5 separate regions of the Homo sapiens genome follow, and regions 1, 2, 3 and 5 are each linked to region 4. The links are contacts of gene promoters, found by promoter capture Hi-C in human tissues and cell types (Jung and others, 2019). All regions are on one chromosome and are shown on one strand. Each heading gives the region's core, a stretch centred on a gene start or on the middle of the fragment in contact. The rest is flanking DNA. Distances are from core to core; before and after follow the strand shown. Region 1 overlaps SYT1 (synaptotagmin 1). Region 2 has its middle 240 kb from the start of LINC02424. Region 3 overlaps SYT1 (synaptotagmin 1). Region 4 holds the start of SYT1 (synaptotagmin 1). Region 5 has its middle 220 kb from the start of LINC02424.

The links. The method cuts DNA at HindIII sites, captures the fragments that hold promoters and counts their contacts. A contact is called where the count stands out against the background at its distance.
Region 1: a fragment that was not itself captured here is called in contact with the fragment with the promoter of SYT1 in region 4 in 2 of the 25 tissues and cell types used here (dorsolateral prefrontal cortex and mesenchymal stem cells).
Region 2: a fragment that was not itself captured here is called in contact with the fragment with the promoter of SYT1 in region 4 in 5 of the 25 tissues and cell types used here (dorsolateral prefrontal cortex, mesenchymal stem cells, mesendoderm cells and 2 more).
Region 3: a contact is called between a fragment that was not itself captured here and the fragment with the promoter of SYT1 in region 4, in 5 of the 25 tissues and cell types used here (dorsolateral prefrontal cortex, hippocampus, lymphoblastoid cells and 2 more).
Region 5: a fragment that was not itself captured here is called in contact with the fragment with the promoter of SYT1 in region 4 in 1 of the 25 tissues and cell types used here (dorsolateral prefrontal cortex).

The regions. Positions count from the first base shown.
Region 1 is chr12:79,144,279-79,146,978 of GRCh38, reverse strand. The region is part of intron 3 of SYT1 (synaptotagmin 1); the gene reads right to left. It overlaps LOC124902973 (a long non-coding RNA gene), which reads left to right. Exons shown (of 2, transcript XR_007063386.1): 2 at 1-845. Among named protein-coding and RNA genes, the nearest start is that of MIR1252, 270 kb to the left of the region's middle. The HindIII fragment of the contact is 6,517 bases long and covers 1-2,700 here.
Region 2 is chr12:78,597,702-78,600,401 of GRCh38, reverse strand. No RefSeq gene overlaps it. Among named protein-coding and RNA genes, the nearest start is that of LINC02424, 240 kb to the right of the region's middle. The HindIII fragment of the contact is 6,803 bases long and covers 1-2,700 here.
Region 3 is chr12:79,166,636-79,169,335 of GRCh38, reverse strand. All of the region lies in intron 3 of SYT1 (synaptotagmin 1), which reads right to left. It overlaps LOC124902973 (a long non-coding RNA gene), which reads left to right. Exons shown (of 2, transcript XR_007063386.1): 1 at 1-2,700. Among named protein-coding and RNA genes, the nearest start is that of MIR1252, 250 kb to the left of the region's middle. The HindIII fragment of the contact is 6,622 bases long and covers 1-2,700 here.
Region 4 is chr12:78,863,524-78,866,223 of GRCh38, reverse strand. It overlaps SYT1 (synaptotagmin 1), which reads right to left and starts at 1,450. Exons shown (of 11, transcript NM_005639.3): 1 at 1,115-1,450. RefSeq lists a silencer at 2,607-2,666. The HindIII fragment of the contact is 3,235 bases long and covers 1,086-2,700 here.
Region 5 is chr12:78,576,917-78,579,616 of GRCh38, reverse strand. No RefSeq gene overlaps it. Among named protein-coding and RNA genes, the nearest start is that of LINC02424, 220 kb to the right of the region's middle. The HindIII fragment of the contact is 5,047 bases long and covers 1-2,700 here.

The DNA of each region.
Region 1 (2,700 bases), core at 100-2,599, 280 kb before region 4:
ATCCCAGCTAATCAGGAGGCTGAGGCAGGAGAATGGCCTGAACCCGGGAAGCAGAGCTTGCAGTGAGCTGAGATCGTGCCATTGTGCTCTAGCCTGGGCGACAGAGTGAGACTCCATCTCAAAAAAAAGTAGTAGATATATGCTGTTTAGCCTTTTATCTCCTTTACTTTGTAGACACTTTACACAATTTTTTTAAAACCCAGGTCAGATCTAAAAACGTTCAGAAAACATCCTTTGATGAACTTCAATGGCCTCTGTTTATTCTTCTACCATATCATTTCATAAGGTCATGTTTTAAAGTTTATTATTTTCCAGAATTGTTGAAGTACAGACACTCCTTTTTGTTTAATTATTAATGTCTCCTGGCTTCTGAGGTGAATGTCTGGAGAAGATTAGCATTTCACACTACTCAAAGCATTGTCTTCTCAAACTGGAAGTTTGGGTTAAGGCCTCTGTACTGTGGTGTGGTGGTGTTGTAGGCTTTGAAGTCAGAATGAGGGTTGAATTCTAAAACTTTCATAATTATCTGTGTGGTCTTCAGAAAGGTAATGAACTTTCTTAGGCCTCAGTTTTCTCTAAAGTGACGAAGATTGAATGAGACAGTACAGGGAAAGAGCCTGACATACAGCTGACAGTTCCAGTCCTTCCAATGGACTGTTTCCTACAACAACATTAATTGACATTGTCTTGTAACTTGCGTTCTACTCTAAAGTGTGAGGACGGAGTAGTGTGTTGTCTGAGGGTGTATGAATGTGCTGCCTGTCTGTGGGAATATGTTTAGGGCTGAAAGATGGTTAGGACACAGGCTGTACATTCTCATGATTAAAAACTCCTTGAAGTCTGAAGTGGTTTTTGTTTTGTTGTTGTGCTGTTAGCTTTTTGCTTTTCCCTCTCCTCCACAGGACTTAAAACACTATGTTTAGGCCGGGCGCGGTGGCTCACGCCTGTAATCCCAGCACTTTGGGAGGCCGAGGCGGGCGGATCACGAGGTCAGGAGATCGAGACCATCCCGGCTAAAACGGTGAAACCCCGTCTCTACTAAAAATACAAAAAATTAGCCGGGCGTAGTGGCGGGCGCCTGTAGTCCCAGCTACTTGGGAGGCTGAGGCAGGAGAATGGCGTGAACCCGGGAGGCGGAGCTTGCAGTGAGCCGAGATCCCGCCACTGCACTCCAGCCTGGGCGACAGAGCGAGACTCCGTCTCAAAAAACAAACAAACAAACAAACAAAAAAAAAAAAAAACCACTATGTTTAAATCTTGGGTTCTGGGGTCCAACTATTTGGGTTTGAAAAATTAGCTGTGTTATATTGGGGAAGTTATATAAAACATTTGTGCCACAATTTACACATTTGCAAAACTAGGCTGTTGGTAATGATGTCAATCTCATTGGGTTGTTGTCATGAGTAGTAAATTTTAATATGTAAAATCATTAAAAATGGTCATGGTGTTTTGGACATTGTAAGCATACATACCATACACTTGTTAGCTATTACTAATTATTGCATGTAAAGAATTAGATAAAAAATTATTAAAGTCATAGAAAGAATCAGATAAAAATAAATATTAATTTAAATATTTCTGATGAGTTATGAAGATTATGATCTTTAAAATTCACATATAACAAAATGACAAAGGTTGTTAATTCATATTTTTTAAAAATGTTAATATTCTAAATAAAATTAGAAAAATATGTTTTTAATCAAGATGAGTCAAAGCTATAGAGATTTATAAAATTAGATAATATATTATTAAGCATGTATAGTACACATTCCAGAATATTAAGTGGATTTGTTACCATCTAAAGCATTTAAGGGAAGAGTAGAAATGAACAAGAGTAGTAATTTGGATGCTGTCCTGTGTACTTTTATATGCATTATCTAGCTTGATCCTCATTAATATTCCAATATTATGGAGTAAAGTGATGTTCTTTATTTTCTATACAGGTAAACTGAAGCTTAGAAAGTTGCTAATACCAAGGTTCTTGCTCTTTCTATGATGTTTGTAGGAAAAAAACAAATTGTCCAGGGCAAGGTCAGACTCTGAAACTCTTCGTTACTGAGGGTACCAAGCTCTGAATGTGTTAAACACTAACATGACACAAAATTTAGAAAGTGCCTTCAGGCTATAGCTAAATAGGATGAAACAGTGTTTTGATTTTGACAGTGCAGATGGATTCAAGAGTATTTCTCCCCTGAAAAGGTAAAACAGAATTATTGGTAATTTAAAGTGAAAGCTTATTAGAAGCTTATCCCACGCCAATTTCTTGGGAAATAAGTCTCTTAAACGAAATGAGCCAGGGTGTGAAGAGGTTTGAGAGGTATTCTGGTCTTCCTAGTGTCGGGTCAATAGTTGCACTGGCTGACCCAGATGATGGGTCTTGTTGCAAGAGCCATCTACCTCCTGGTGCTGTCTAGCCCAGTTTGTTTGTAAATGGGAATTGTACATCCTGGGCCATGGATGCCTGGCATCTGGATGCTCTTGGAAAGGGTCCTTGCACAGAAAATCAGAAGCCTCTTTCCCTTATCCCAATGTGGGCTGAGGAAACTGCTGAGACATGCCCTTCTGGGCGGTGGGGTAAAAAAGGAAGCGTCTTACTGAAAAATGTCAGGGAAGGGATTTGAGCCCTGGGACTGATAGCTCTGTTCTCTATTATATTTTAAAGAACCCAGTATTTTATATACACTGCTGAATGCATAATCC
Region 2 (2,700 bases), core at 97-2,596, 270 kb after region 4:
TGACTATGAATTTGAATTTGAATATGAATACACAAATATGAACATTACCAATTCGTATTTGTGTATTATTTGTGCATGTGACTTTATATCTGTTAATATAATTTATTCTCATTGCAATGTTTTTAGTTTAATAGCAGGGCCTCAATACCCCTATTTTTGAGATTAAGAAACTGAGGCACACAGAAATTAAGAAAATTGGTAAAAGTCAAGCAGTCACTTAATGACCAAGCAAGAACAACAACATCAGCATCAACAAGAAAAATACATTGTTCACTTAACATGAATAAAGCACTGGGTGTGATTCTCCATTTCCAGTTTTTATTAAGATGTGGCAATGAGATTTATATATATTAATATATGAGATTTATGTATATTAATATATGACAACACGTTGCAATATATGCAACATATACAAACATGTGAAAAGTATGCAATCATGAAAGGCACTGGTATCAACCAGGTTTGAATTTGTGTAAATGTTTTAATAGTTCAGTGTCAGAGTTTCTCTACTTACAATGCCTGCCAAGGAATTGTGAAGAGAAAAATGAATGTTTAAAAATGGTGAAAAACTTCCTGGAAAACACGTAATATAATATTTTATAACTATATTATTTTTTCTATAAGAGTACCATAAAACCAAATATTTTATAAAAGTATTGCCTTTCATTTTCCCACCTTCAAAGGTAGACTGTACCGTGACGTTATTTGATGTTCAGTGAACTGCGAGCTGTGCTGAAAAGAATGGATCTTGACAGCCTCTTCAACTTCTATTGCCTCCTTTTTTCTGTCAAAAGTACCTACCTATATTAGCTTCTGGGAACCTCTCTTCTTTGCTGTTGTGCTCTGCATTTTATTGATGAATTTGTAATACAGCTTAGACTACTAAGAATTACAAAGATTGATTAGGATTTCTAAAAATGTTCCTCTCATCTCTGGTTGTCTGATGTGATGCTTTGAGGCCAGGAACAAAAGCAGCATGAAGGATGCTAGCAAAGGAGAAAGCAGAGGTGAGAGCCTTGGTGGAAATACACCCTCCCTCGGGACTTTTTATATTAGGGATAATTTAACCCTTTATTTTTTAAGGCAAATTGACTTTAAGTTTCTCTTGATTTCAAATAATAGTTAACAAAATAATATAGCGGATAAGCTAATTTAGAGAGTATTTAGTGGATTAATAGGTAGCTATTAATTTGATTAATTGGTAGCTACAACTTGTATTGATTATTAATTTGCCTCTATAATATACATGACATGAGAATTATATTTGCATTGCATCATAACTTTTAATTTATCTCTTCTGCACTGTAAGTTCCAAGAAGTTAAATAACAGTGTTTGCATTATAGTCAATAACCCTACACCTATTACAGTTTGTGGTAAAAAGTAGGTATTCCCTAACACTTTGTAAGAAGAAAAGAAGAAATAAGAGAGGAAGGAAGAATAGAGGGCAGAGTGGAAATCAGTCCACCATTGTTCCTAACTCAGAGACAGGGAGTAAGTACAGTAATTAAATTATTGTGAATACTTTAAAAATACAATAAAAATTGTACAAACAGCCCAAAGAATATCCATTATGAGTCTTTTAAATGTTAACATGGAATGCATTTTTTAAATAAAAATAAAAGGATTACAGAACGATAATACAAGATAAAAGTTGTTTTGAAATTTTACTCAACCTGAACATGTAAGGCATAAACTCACTCTTTGTCTAATATATAGTAAGTACAAGTTACAAATGCTGCATTCAACATTAAAAGCTGTATCTGTTTTAGGATGACCTTATTAACAATCACTACAAATTTCACAACTGTCAGAACAAGTAGGACTAGATTCTTAAAATTCAGATTCAGTATTTTGAGGTACTCTATTTCAATTTACCTTTTTTCTTTCACAACAACTAAAAACAGTCAATTCTATCATCACTTATCTACAGGTGATCCTTGAAAGAACACTCATCTAAATAACAGGGTAAATATTGCTTTAACTTGATCTACAACAATTCCCTGCAAAGGAAGAGTACTTCAAACACCTAATGGCTTGAACGTGAACACTTCATTAACATATGTTCAAATCTTATTTTCTCAAGTAAGATGAGAACCCTTTGGGAATGTTTTGACACTTGCTATGATAGAAGATTTCAGCCCATTCTTATCAAAACTGCTAAGTCCTTTAACTGTTTTGATGTCTCTAAAGTATGTCCACTGTCAGACATAGTATTAGCTTGAATACATTATGAAATAAAAATGCTAGTTTAATGAATACCTGCGTAAAGGTACGCTTCTTTCAAGATTCTTATAAGGCTTAATATTTTACCCGTTTAAGGGCAATCACAATTATCTTGGCACTTTAAATATACTTTTAATTTTCTATCTCTTACTTGTTTGCAAACAGATGATTCTGATGCATTAAGTGTCTATTTTGATCTTTGTAATAGAAGAAATAGGAAACTTGGTATGTATGTCTGAAATCTGTCACCCTAACATTAGCTATATGTTTTTGATGTATTAAATTTTATATAACTAAGTACCTCTTAAAGAACTGATGGTTATAAGTGATACATTTTGACCAGCAATCCTCCTTTGGCCATCAAGTCTTATTTTGCAGATCAAAGCGGACATGTGTGAGAAGAGGTATGCATGTGACTAGATAAAATGTCTGCTTTATTAAAATGTTACATTCCATAGCGAATAGAGAGGCCGGGA
Region 3 (2,700 bases), core at 151-2,650, 300 kb before region 4:
TATATATTTTATAAGAGTTTTCCAGTGAATAGTAGTACATTTAATGCAGTTTATAAAATTTGGTGTGGATAGTTGACTGCTGCTTTGCTAACTATTCTTCTGTGAATTTTTGGAGCCATAAAGAAAGAATAAGAATTACTTCAAAAAAATGAGGCACTGGAATTAATGGGTTAATATCTGTAAAGTGTTCTTAGGATGGCATTTTTTAGAAAAACATTTGCAAATGGAGAAAATCACAGACTTCCTGCTGTCCCTTGATTCATCCATAATTTCAATGGGACTCTCACTTAAAACTATCTACATTGTTGAAAACCCATTTAATTTCTCATTCACAAAAGCATTCAACTGGTGATTGCTGCAAACAGGGAAAATTGCTGCTCAAGTGTTCCAGATGCCTTGAAAAGAATGTCGAAAACTTAAAGATGAGGGAATTAATGGCCACAAAGATATGGGAAAGCTATTTAGAAACTTGACTGTTGATTATTATCACTGAGGCCTCGTTAAATTAGAAAATGTTATCTGCTAATTAAGGCAAACCTATAGATAATTACCCTCTCATCTCATTTTATCTTATACACATTCAGTAAACAATGTCTGGTTGTGACCTCAAAATCACATCCTTGCTAACCTCAAACAACATGATAACTATGTCCAAGAGCAAGAATTTCCAAAGACAAAGCTCCAGTTTAAAACATTTCATGAAAAAGACCTCAGAAAATTGTGTTATTTTCTCACTGTAACAAACTCTGTCCTTTGTCTTCCCAGTGACTATATCAGAAAAATTTAAAATGTAAATTTAAAATTAAAATGTCACCAGTAAAAACTAGCAATATTCTGTGTGAAAGAGAATAGTTAAGTTTAGTGCTGGGTGTGCCGTCCCATCTTTGCCAGATCAAACTATCACTTGGTGGGTTTATTAAGAATAAAGATTACTGAGACACTTAATAAACTCTCACTTTTTTGAGACCCAAGCATTTGCCTGACACGGTTTTGGTTCACTTGTGTTGATTATAATGCTGAATCTTTACAACAACCCATTGAGTTAGGACTTCCCTCACAGATGAGGAAACTGAGGCTTAGGGAGGTAATCTGACAACTTTCACTCAAATAAGGCTCTAACCAGATCTAGTTGTCTCTCTTAAGCTCCCTGTCTCTTTACATTTCTAAAGGAATAACTAGAAGACAAAGAAGTTAAGTACATACATATGTATTAGACCAGAGGTCCCCAAACTCCTGCCAGGGATGGGTACCAGTCCATGGCCTGTTAGGAACTGGACCGCACAGCAGGAGGTGAGTGGCAGATGGAGAATGAGCATTACTGCCTGAGTTCTGCCTCTTGTCAGATCAGCAGAGGCATTAGATTCTCATAGGATTGTGAACCCTGTGGTGAGTGAACCCTATTGTAGACTGCACATGTGAGGGATCTAGGTTGTTACGCTCCTTATGAGAATCTAATGCCTGATGACCTGACATGCAACAGCTTCATTCCCAAACCACCCCATTCCCAGCCCGCTGCATCCCCCAGGGAAAAATTGTCTTCCATGAAACAAGCCCCTGGTGCCAAAAATGTTGGGGACCGCTGTATTACACTATAAGCATAATTATTCTTAATTCTTAATGTTTTAATTGCAATTTATTAGATTTTGGGGGAAAGTATAGCCACAAATATTCAGTCCCTGACATTTCACCTTCTTGTTTCTTTGGTAAAAATAATTAAAGACCATTTTCCACATAGTAGGCTTAATAAGTTTCAGTAATACATTCTAGGGTAAGTCATTTGATATTTATTCTGTGATTCTTCGTATTATCAAATTTTATGTTTCTCAAGTATATAAGCTTGAGGGAATAGAAGTAAACATTTACATTCTTTTGTAGTATACCTTTCAAATCCATTTCCACTACACACAAGCACACACAAACACACACATTCTCCCAGAAATCAGGACATAAGACAATGCTTTCTATACAACTGATTCTCAATAAAAAGTATTATTCAGGCTAGGAATGAGATTTAACCATAAAAGTGGCTTATAATGCAAATTTTAGTTTTGGGTTTATTTCCTTTATATCTTGTAGATACCCAAAGTATGCCCTACGTCTTCTTGAAATCCTAACATTTTCAAGGGCAGGACTTTGTCCTTTTCATAGGGAATCTGAGATCGCAATATGGTAAGTATTCAACAGAAGAACTCAGTTCAATTCTCAATCCTTTCTACATAGATTTTTCACTTAAACAATTGTATTTATTTTGTTGTAAATGTCATTCCTTTACTTATGCCATATTTAATAAGTACTCTATTAACAATCTGTTACACTATTAGCATTATGCTTCATTGTTTATAAAGCACTTTCATTATAGATCTCATTTTGTTTGAGGTGATTTACAAAACAGCACTGTGGTAGAAATTATATCCTCGTTTTACATGTAAAAAGTATGACACAGAGGAATTAAATTTAAATGATTTACTCAAAATAACATGGCTAGCAAAACTGAGTTTTTTCAACTACCAAGTCCAAGGATCCTTCCACTGTGCAAAGGCATCTCTAAAGCTTCCCGTATAATCCAACCAACATTTGTATAGCATCTGGAGTCTTTCATACACATCATCTCATTTGATCCTCACAAGACCCAGGGAGGTAGGTATTTTTATACCTATTTTGATGTCAATTGCATTTCTAAAAATAGAAGGAGAGCATGTT
Region 4 (2,700 bases), core at 201-2,700:
ACAATAAAATGCAAATAGTACAAAGGTAGAATAAAGTGAAAATTCTACACAAATGTAGCTTCCATACAAAAGTTAAACAGTTGCTTTATTTCACGAAAGGGTTAATACTGGAGAAAGTGAATATCAACATGTACACAAAGCTAACTAGAAGATTAGCTTTCTCAAAGTAGAAATCCAAGCCTCCCTATAAAATTGTTGTCCCTTGCAAATGTTTTGAAACTTTACATTTTTTGATCCCCCAACAACAGGCCATACCAAGAAACCTCAGGAAAGTAATAATCTATTTTAATTGTTTTTTTTTTTTTGTTACTCAAGAAAGCTTTCAAAGTTCAGATATTAACACTGATGTGCAATACCAAATTGTTAGCCCCACAGGACAGATGGAAACAGGAAAAGTCAGATGGTTGGCACTCAAAAGCAAAAGCAATTAAGCAGTTGAAAGTGGGTTGGATTGTCGGTTTATTTTTGTTCCATTTGAACGAATCAAGTGAGAGACATAGACTCTTGCAAGGAGGAAATCAAGTCAAACTTGACGCTTCCTCTCTCTGACAGCCCAAGCTGGACTGGTTGTCTACTCCCCTTATTCAGTTTAATTGCTTTATGTGCTCTGATTTTCGCAGAGCTTGTATTCTATCTTGTTTACGTTCCCCCCCCCCCCCATATCCCTCTCCCCAACAGAAAGAAATCTTTCTCCTTTCTTCACTCCCCCTCTTTCCTCTAAGAAAGGCAATCCTCTCCAGGAGGAGAAAGAAACGCTGTGCGTGCTTAGGGTGGGAGGAGGGCGAGAGGGGAGGTGTGGGAGAGAAAGAGAGAAAAGATTGAGATTGGGGGTGGGGGACGGAGGAGAGAGAACAAGAGAAGGAAAGAGGAAGCAAGAAGATGGGGGATGCCCAACATCAACTCCAGGCTCTAAATCACGGGCGCTGTGCAAAGTGCTTTTCCAGGAGATGCACATGTAGTCTCATATTTCTCACAATAGGCCACCCGGGGATCCCTCCCTAGGTCTCAGACTCCCACCACTAAAACCCAAGTGTATCGAGAAGAAAATCTTTGGGATGGATTCGAGCAGATAGGCACCGCCGAGGTGGCCGCGCCGCCAGTCCCGCTTCCTTACCTGGAGGGCGGACCGGGAGGTGGTGCCGGGTCTCGGTCCCCAGTGCTCTCCCCGCGTGGACCGGCGCGAGGCACACGCGTACTCTCGCTGCCTCCGCTCTTGGAGGGGCAGCCTGCAACACAAAAGGGGTGTGTGGGTGTGGGTGTGTGGGAGGTTTTCCAGGGCCACCAGCTGGTCCCACGTGGTCGCCCCCACCCTACACACACCCCTTCGGGGCGCCAAGCCCCCCTCTCGGCTGAGCACCACCCTGGGGACTTGCCCGGGGTGCAGCCTCAAGTTGCCGCTGCTAACTGCTGCTGCCGCTGCCGCTGCTGCAGGAGGAGGTGGAAAGACACTGGGGGCAGTACTCGGTCTAGAGCATCCCCACACTGCAGCTTCTCCAGGAATCCCTCCAGTGAGGAGGCGGCCGCCCATCATCTCCGAGCCCCAGCATCCTGATTGGCTCCACCTCGGGTACGCTGCGCCAAGGAGCCAATCCCCGCGCACTAATAATAGGTGGATCCGTTCAGCCAACATCGCCCATCCCAGTTCTGTTAGTGTCTCTCCATCCCCACAGCGGACAGGGACCTGGGAAGCGGGGTGGAGGCGGGTTGGGGGAGGGGGTGAAGTAAGAGGGGAACAGATCCCAAGGAGACACAATCAAGGGCGTCTGATAAAACCTCTAGGTAGACTCAGGAATGCCCCACAAGCTGTTCAGCAAGCAGTATGCACAGGAGAAAGAGAGCATAATACAAAGCTTTTTTTTTTTTTTTTTTACTCTCAATCAAAACCTACCCTGATACTGAGCATGCCCAGACTGCAACAGCGACCTAGGAGTTTCGATGTGTGTGGGTTCGCCAGCTGTGGGTTTTTGAAAAGCTGGGACCGGGGACAGGAGAGGTAGAAGTTTGTCTTTGGCCATTTAACCCGGCGGAGTTGTGAAAGCTGGGTAGGGTGGGGATGTGAAAGGGTTCCGCACAAGTGTCCTCAAACTGAGCCGCGGGGAGGTGGCCCACCTGGCTGCCGGAGGCTCATCATGCTGTTCTTCTGGGGTTCCGGGTTGGAAGCGGGGGCGGGATAAGCTGAGCTTTGCTGGAAGCCTGGGGACTTCCCGCGAAGGGTGCGGTGGAGCCGAGATGCGGGAGAAGCAGCTCCGTCCCATAGGTGGGGCCGGGAGCGCGACTCCACCCATCAGCGGCGGCTGCCAGGCCGTGGAGAGTGCACTGGGAGTTTCCATTGCAGCGACCAATAAGTTTGTACACTTGGGTCAAGTGCAACATTGTTGGAGATGCTTTTTTATTTTTTCATTTTTATTTTTTGCCACCTCCCTCCCCCATCTCTCTCGACCCCTTGCCAGAGCAGTGACGACTAAAGCATAGATTCTCTCCCTGCTTCCTCTCTTCCCAGCTGAACCGTTCTGCTCGGAAGTAAGAAGCTTTTCTCTTGTGAGGGCGGTGGTGACCTGATTGTCTCTAAGCTCTCAGGCAATTTATAGCTTGGTAATACCGAAATACCGAACAGGAAGGCTCAGCGGGTGGGGGAAGGGACCGCGCGCCAGGCTAGGGGCGGGAGCGGAGCCCAGCTGGGAGAGGGGCCCGTCCATTATC
Region 5 (2,700 bases), core at 163-2,662, 290 kb after region 4:
CCCTCCTCCTACCCTTCTGAGTCTCCAGTGTATATTATTTTTCCCTCTATGTCCATGTGCACACGTTGTTTAGCTCACACTTGTAAGTGAGAACATGCAGTATTTGACTTTCTGTTTCCTAAAGTTATTTCACTTAGGATAATGGTCTCTAGTTTCATTCATGTCTCAAAGACATGATTTTATCCTTTTCATTGCTGAGAACTATTCCACGGTAAAAATATGTAAAATGTTTCTTTATCCAATCATCTGTTGATAGACAGTTAGGTTGATTCCATCTTTGCTATTGTGAATAGTGCTGCAATAAACATATGGGTACAGTTATCTTTTTGGTATGATGATTTCCTTTCCTTTGGGTACATACCTAGCAGTGGGATTGCTGTGTATAATGATGGTTCTATTTTTAGTTCTTTGGGAAATCTCCATAGTGTTTTCCATAGAGGTTGCACTAATTTACATTCCCACCAACAGTGCATAAACATTTCCTTTTTTCTGCATCCTTGCCTATATATGTTATTTTTTGACTTTTTAATAATAGCCATTCTGACTGGTGTAAGATGGTTATTTCATTGTGGTTTTAATTTGCGTTTCTTTGATGACCAGTGATGGTGGCATTTTTCAACATGTTTGTTGGACGTTTGTATGTCTTCTTTTGGAAAATGTCTGTTCATGTCCTTTGCCCACTTTTGAACGGGATTAATTGTTTTCGTTTTTTTTTCTTGTCCTTTGCCCACTTTTGAACGGGGTTAATTGTTTTTGTTTTTTTTCCTGTTGAGTTGTTGAGTTCCTTGTAGATTCTGGCTATTAGCTCTTTGTCACATGCATAGTTGGCAGATATTTTCTCCCATTCTGTAGTTTGTCTGTTTACTCTGTTAATCATTTATTTTGCTGTGCAGAAGCTTTTTAGTTTAATTAAATCCCATTTGTATATTTTTGTTTCGTTATATTTGCTTATGAGGACTTAGTCACAAATTATTTGCCTAGTCTAATGTCCAGAAGAGTTTTTCCTGGTTGTCTTGTAGGACTTTTTTAGTTTTGGGGCTTACATTTAAGTCTTTAATCCATTTTGGGTTTATTTTTGTATATAGTGAGAGATATGGGTTGTGTGTGTGTGTGTGTGTGAAACATATATAAATAACACACACATATACATACACATATATATGTATAAACACATATATGAATACACACATATACATACACATAAAGTTGCCAATCAAGGAGCAAAAAACCCCACAAAATTTCTGAAAACTACCAAAAATCTTGAAGTTGATAAATGAGAATCTCATAATCTCTGAAATTTTTCATAATTTACATTCTTCCACATTTATTCTCTCAAACAGTTTATGGAGCGCCTACTAAATACTGGGATTTTTAATATAATGACTGTCATTAGGCTTGCAACTTAGAATGGGAAAAGAGAGTATGCCTATAAATAAATAGATAAGCATATGATTATGAATTGTGCTAATGAATCTAATAAAGAAGAGGCACAGAAGCTGACAGGGGAAGCATGCTTAGACGGTATGGCCAAGGAAAACCACCATGTGTCTATGACAGTGATGCCAGACTTGAACGAAGAATGGAGGCGGCTGTGAAATGATCAGGGCAGAAGCTCACCAGGAAGAGGAGGAGTCTAGACAGTAGCCTCAAATTAAGAAAGGTCCCAGAATGACCAAGAATATGAAGGGAAACTCTTGCAGTTCAAGCAAGGTGGCCAGGAGGAAAGTGAAATAAGTGATTTATCTACTTGATTTCAGACGAGGAATTTAGCAGACTTTTCATTTTTGGAACCAATGTTACACTCCATCAGTGAGAAGAACAAGATAGCAATATTTTTATGTGTGATGTCTTGTATGCAAATTTGTAGATTATTGCTCACATTTTCACTCTCTAGCTATGTGGTCCTAGAGCTTGTTTGTGTCTCCATAGCTTCACTCCTTGCTCACGACTCCTTATTTATTTCCAGAATGCTAATCAGGACTACAAATAATATTCCAACCCAATTACCATACTTCCCAGGGTAGTGCAGTTTATTAGAATAATTATTAAAAAGCACTTATCACAGCTGAGCTCAACCCTTCCTAATCATAATTTCAACCAATAAGTCATTTTAATGTTTTTAACCAAGACATTTTCTGGGAGACTTTTTCTTTATTCATATCTTGAATCAAACCACAATACATTAGCCTTCCTATAATTTTCCCCAAAATTAAAAAGTAGAAAATACATCTACATAGTTTACTTGAAATGTCAGGAGAAATCCTGCTAGGCAAGAGCAGATATAGTATATCTCAGCAGGGTATAGGCCTTACCTAGTTGTGAACATGTATTAACAAATGTTAAATATAATTAAGAGCTAAAGTAAAACAAGAAAAATATGAGCATGCAGTCGTGATAGGGAAAATCCCATTTCTTATTGCTATGATCTGATCACATTTCCCATAGAGTATAAAAGACATGCAATTTTTGAGCATGTCACAGTAATATTAATAAATGATGTTCCAAAGCTTGTCTCCTGAGAGGTCATTCAGTCTTTACCATTGAATAGTTTTGCTTTTGCCAAATGAAAGCAGATTGTTACATGATTAGGTGAATGTGTGTGCGTGCACCCATGTGGGTGGTTTATATGTATTATGTTTCCAGCCTTCTGTGAATCCTGTACATAATAGAGGTCTGATAAAACATGCTGTAGTCCCACTG